2 separate regions of the Homo sapiens genome follow, and region 1 is linked to region 2. The links are contacts of gene promoters, found by promoter capture Hi-C in blood cells and fetal thymus (Javierre and others, 2016). All regions are on one chromosome and are shown on one strand. The core of a region is centred on a gene start or on the middle of the fragment in contact, and the rest is flanking DNA. Distances in the headings are between cores, read along the strand shown.

Region 1 (2,700 bases), core at 74-2,573, 300 kb after region 2:
CCCGTCACCACGCCGGGCTAATTTATTTTTGTATTTTATTTTTGTAGAGATGGGGGTGGGGTGGGTCTCATTTTGTGGGCCAGGCAGGTCTCGAACTCCGCCCGCCTCGCTTGGCAAAGCGCCGGGACTACAGGCTGAACCGCGTGCCCGGCGGGAACTGGGCTCCTCTCTTTGGCATCTCTCCCCACTCACTCCTTTTCTGTCCCTTTTGATCGGCTCCTCTTCTTCCGACAATCCCTTAAAGGTCAAATGTCTCCTTTCAGCTGCAGCTTCTCTCCCGACGTTCAGAGCCGTGTTCCCGTGTCCGGGTGACCGTTCCGCAGACATCTCCACCCAGTTCCCACACTCTGCTCCCTGGCTCCCCGGCTCCCCACCGGGGTGAACGAGCAAAGGAACAAAACCATCGCCCACCCTCCCACCGCCTCCCGCCATCATTGTGGCGGACTCAGAAGGGAACTTTTTATTCCTAGACTCCAAACCTTAGCAACTTTGGAAAGAGAAACGTGGGGCGTGAAGAACAAAAGTGGAACCCCGGCGCCCTCTTCTGGTCAGAAAGTGGAACTCCAGGCCGGGCGCGGTGGCTCACACCTGTAATCCCAGCACTTTGGGAGGCCTGGGCGGGCGGATCTCTTGAGGTCAGGAGTTCGAGACCAGCCTGGCCAACATGGCGAAATCCCGTCGCTACCAAAATACAAAAATTAGCCGGGCGTGGTGGCGGGCGCCTGTAATCCCAGCCACTTGGGAGGCTGAGCCAGGAGAATCGCTTGAACCTGGGAGGTGGAGGTTGCAGTGAGCCCAGATCACGTCACTGCACTCCAGCCTGGGCGACAGAGCAAGACTCCATCGTCTCAAAAAAAAAAGAAAAAAGTTGAACCCCATGAAGCGCTCAGTTCAGGCCTCTTGTTGGGCTAAGGCCCTGCTGCTTGGTGCTGTCCACCTGGGGCTGCCCCTGCAAAAGCTGAAGTTTTATGTCTTGTCATCTGTGCTGGGAGAGGAAGCTGCTCTTTTGCGCTGGTCAGGTTCTTCCTGCACTTCTCTTGGAGGACCTTCAGGTCTTCATCATGTACAACCCGCAGTTTCATTGCACGTAGCCCACCTCTCCTGTCTCAGAGGAAAAATTGATACCATCAGATGCGAACCCTCAGCTTCCTGCCTGGGCCCACAAAGAGATCTGTCTGCACCCATTTGCACGTCCTGCTGTCTGAAGATAACCCTGCTGCTGGGGCGGTGGGGGAAGCATCTCCACTCCCACCCTCACAGAAGGTACACTTTGAGCCGCTAGCTATTATTCCCTCTCTCCAGTTGCTTTTTGATCTTTCATGGGTTTTTGGGGGGTGTTTTTTTGTTTTTTGTTTTTGCTTTTTGAGACAGGGTCTTATTCTGTCACTGAGGCTGGGAGGCAGTAGCATAATCACAGCTCACTGCAGCCTCGACCTCCTGGGCTCAAGCAATCCTTCCACCTCAGCCTCCCGAGCAGCTGGGATTGCAGGCATGCGCCACCAAGCCCGGCTAATTTTTTGTATTTTCAGTAGAGATGGGATTTCACCATGTTGGCCAAGTTGGTCTCGAACTTCTGACCTCGTGATCCACCCACCTCCGCCTCCCAAAGTGCTGGGATTACAGACGTGAGTCGCCGCGACCGGCCACCCATTTTTTGTGCTTTAATGAACGTTATTTTTTAGAATGATTTTAGATGTACAGAAAAACTAGGCCGAGCGAGTGGCTCCTGCCTGTAATCTCAGCACTTTGGGAGCCTGAGGTGGGTGGATCACTGGAGGTCAGGAGTTTGAAACCAGCCTGGCGAACATGGTGAAACCCCGTCTTTACTAAAAATACAAAAAGTAGCCAGATGTGGTGGCACACACCTGTAATCCCAGCTACTTGGGAGGCTGAGGCAGGAGAATCGCATAAATCCAGGAGGTGGAGGTTGCAGTCAGTGGAGACTGTGTCATTGCAATCCAGCCTGGGGGACAAGAGTGAAACTTTGCCTCAAAAGAGAAAGAAAGAAAAAAAAAAGATGTACAGAAAAACTGAGAAGCGAATACCAAGAGTCCCCCATGTATCCTGAACCCATTTCCTTGTTATTAACATATCACATTACTGTAGTACATTTATTACAATTAACGAATCAATATTGTCATATCATTATTATTAAGAAACCCTGTCTCTACGAAAAATTAAAAAATTAGCTGGGGGTGGTGGTATGCATCTGTAGTCCCAGCTACTCAGGAGGTTGAGGTGGGAGGATCCCTTGAGCCCAGGAGTTTGAGGCTGCAGTAAGCAAAGATCACGTCACTGCACTCTAGCCTGGGCGACAAAGCGAGACCCAGTCTCTAAAAAGTAGAAATAGGCCGCACGCGGTGGCTCATGCCTGTAATCCCAGCACTTTGGGAGGCCGAGGCGGGTGGATCACCTGAGGTCAGGAGTTCAAGACCAGCCTGACCAACATGGCAAAAACCCGTCTCTGCTAAAAATACAAAATTCGCCGGGTTCGGTGGTGCATTCCTGTAATCCCAGCTACTTGGGAGGCTGAGGCAGGAGAATTGCTTGAACCTGGGAGGTGGAGGTTGCAGTGAGCCAAGATCGTGCCACTGCACTCCAGCCTGGATGACAGAGCAAGACTCCATCAAAAAAAAAAAAAAAAAAAGTAGAATTAAAAAAGGGGTTTCAGGCCTACAAGGAGTCAGAAAAATTTCCCTC
Region 2 (2,700 bases), core at 108-2,607:
CTCGCCGGTCTCCCTGCCTACGCTCTGGCATTCCATCCCCTCTGTCCACCCAACCACTAGAGTGAGCCTTCGCCCAGGACACCCGCTCATGTCACTGCTCAGAGCCCTTACATGCCCTCCCACCGCCCTTAGGGTGGACTCCAAATACCTTATCATCGTTCACCAGGAACCCTCCCCTATTGAGCTGCTCAGCCCTGAAATGTTCTGTTCCACTCACTTGTCAGTTCTCCAAATGCACCATGCTCTCCCTCTTGCCTCCAGCCTTTGCATTCACTCTGCCTGCTATGCTCTTCTCCGAAGCCCTCTGCAGATCTGAGAATCTCTTCCTCCAGGAAGCCTTCCCTGACTACATCCCTGACGCTCAATTAGGTGCCCCTCCGTGTAATGCCGCTAAGCCTGTGTCTCATTTCTCACAGCCCTTTTCATTCTTTTTTTTTTTTTTTTTTTTGATGCAGAGTCTCGCTCTGTCGCCCCAGCTGGAGTGCAATGGTGCGATCTCGGCTCACTGCAACCTCCGCCTCCAGGGTTCAAGCGATTCTCCTGCCTCATCCTCCCGAGCAGCTGGGACTACCACCACCACGTCCACCACCACGCCCGGCTAATTTTTGTACTTTTAGTAGAGATGGGGTTTCGCCATCTGGTCTGGAACTCCTGACCTCAGGTGATGCGCCCGCCTGAGTGCTGCATTACAGGCATGATGTGCCTGGGATTACTGCCAGGAGCCACCGCGCCCGGCCTCACAGCCCTTTTCTTTTCTTTTTTTTTTTTTTGAGACGAAGTTTCACTCTTGTCCCCCAGGCTGGAGTGCAATGGCGCGATCGCGATCTCGGCTCACTGCAAACTCTGCCTCCCGGTACAAGCGATTCTCCCGCCTCAGCCTCCCGTGTAGCTGGGATTACAGGTGCGTGCCTCCACGCCCAGCTAATTTTTGTATTTTTAGTAGAGACGGGGTTTCATCATGTTGGCCAGGCTGGTCTCGAACTCCTGACCTCAGGTGATCCGCCCGCCTCGGCCTCCCAAGGTGCAAGGATTACAGGCGTGGGCCACCGCGCGCGGCTATTAATATTTTTTGAAACAACCTTTTCCTGGGTCTCAATTCCCTCAACCGGGGAGGCCCCCCAGCCAGCACCCGCGTGCATCCGTGGCGGTTCACACCGAGGACGGTGACGGACACCCTAGTCTGCTCCGCCTTCTGCCGGGTCTGGCCCCAGCCGCGGGGCCCCACCTCGGAACCGACAGCGCCGCCGCGGCCCACTTAAGGACGGGAGGGCGGGCCTGGGAAGGCTCGGCCCCGCGTGACGTCAGCGCGCACCGCGGCGTGTGACGCTCTGGTTGCCGCAGAGACGCCCCGCCCCCGCGCGGCGCTGCGGAACCGGAGCTCCGGGCGGCGTCGGCAGCGGCGCGAGAGGCGACGAGGCCCGGGCGGCAGGAGCCGGCGCGGCGACCGCGGCGAGGGCGGCGGGGACGGAGCAGAGCACGACGAAGACGCACAGGCAGCCGGGCCGGGCCGGGCCACGGGGAGAGCGGCCGGCGGGCAGCGGGCGGGAGGCCGGGCGGGCCGCGGGCAGCCACCGAGCCGCGAAGCGACATGGTGCTGCTCAAGGAGTAGTGAGTGTCCGGCGGCCGTGCGGAAGCGGGGAGGAGGGAGGGTGGGGACGGCCGCCGGGGCGACGGCGCGGCGAGGGACGCAGGGCCCGGATGGACGGAGGGGCAGCAGGGACGGAGGGTGCCTGAGGCGGGCCCAGCGGGGATGGAGGGGATCCGGGGCGGGCGGCACGTGAGGCGGGGCCCACGGGGCACGGAGGGGCGGCCGGGGCGTGGAGGGGCGGCCGGGGCGTGGAGGGGCAGCCGGGGCGTTCGGCATCTGAGCCGGGGCCCACGGGGCATGGACGGGCAGCCGGGGCATGGAGGGGCCCACGGGCACGGAGGGACAACCCGGGCGGACGGCTCCTCAGGCGCCCCGGGGGCCTCGGAGGCCCAAGTGGACCCGAGGAGAGGCCGGGGACAGCGAGGGCGAGGCCAGGCCCGAGACGGGGTCAGGGCAGGGAGAGCTGGCCCGGGACTGGGGGAGGCCGAGGGGACGCCGAGCGCTGGGAGTGCTGTGGGGTCGCTCTGCGCGGGCCGAGGGCGCGGGCTCAGCCGGGACTGCAGGCGGCGCTGAGAGGCCCCGCGGCGGCCGAGGAAGAGGCGCACCGGGGCAGGCAGGGCCTCCCGGCGGTGGGGAAAGGTGGAGGGCCGAACAGTTCACACGGAGAGCCGGGTGGATGGGTCAGAGGCTCCGCGATGGAGTTGGGATGGGGATGGGGAGGAGTGGCCGCCTTAGGCATCGGGTGAGGGGTGGTGGTAAGTGGACACAGGAGGAGGACTAGGAAGTCAGGGCCTGGCTGGGGAGACAGGTGAAGGGTCTGAGGACATGCAGAGGGGGCTGAGATGCGGGCCGGAGTAACCGTGGTGCCCAAGCAGCTGGTGCGGAAGAGGAGGCTTTTGGAACAAGCTTGGGATGACTGCTTGGGACGTGGGGAGACTTGGGCGAGGAGGCCAGAAAATGTTGGGTAGGGTCCGAAGTGGAGAAGGCCGGGAAGTTACCGGGGTCGAGGCTGGTCCGGAAAGAGAGTATGTTGGGATGAGTATACCTGCCGTTGGAGATGGGGGAGACCAGGGCAGGGCCAGCTTGTTTCTAGGGGATTCTCAGTCTTGGTG

What was found. Contacts are between HindIII fragments. The CHiCAGO score rates a contact against its expected background, and 5 or more counts as called.
Region 1: a fragment that was not itself captured here is called in contact with the fragment with the promoter of PITPNA in region 2 in 7 of 17 cell types (endothelial precursors, megakaryocytes, erythroblasts and 4 more); the score reaches 16.6 in endothelial precursors.

What each region holds. Positions count from the first base shown.
Region 1 is chr17:1,257,123-1,259,822 of GRCh38, reverse strand. No RefSeq gene overlaps it. Among named protein-coding and RNA genes, the nearest start is that of BHLHA9, 12 kb to the left of the region's middle. The HindIII fragment of the contact is 2,984 bases long and covers 1-2,700 here.
Region 2 is chr17:1,561,449-1,564,148 of GRCh38, reverse strand. PITPNA (phosphatidylinositol transfer protein alpha) reads left to right here and starts at 1,357. Exons shown (of 12, transcript NM_006224.4): 1 at 1,357-1,608. The coding sequence starts at 1,589. RefSeq lists silencers at 1,185-1,464, 1,535-1,584, 2,065-2,194 and enhancers at 1,037-1,536, 2,305-2,404. The HindIII fragment of the contact is 8,315 bases long and covers 1-2,496 here.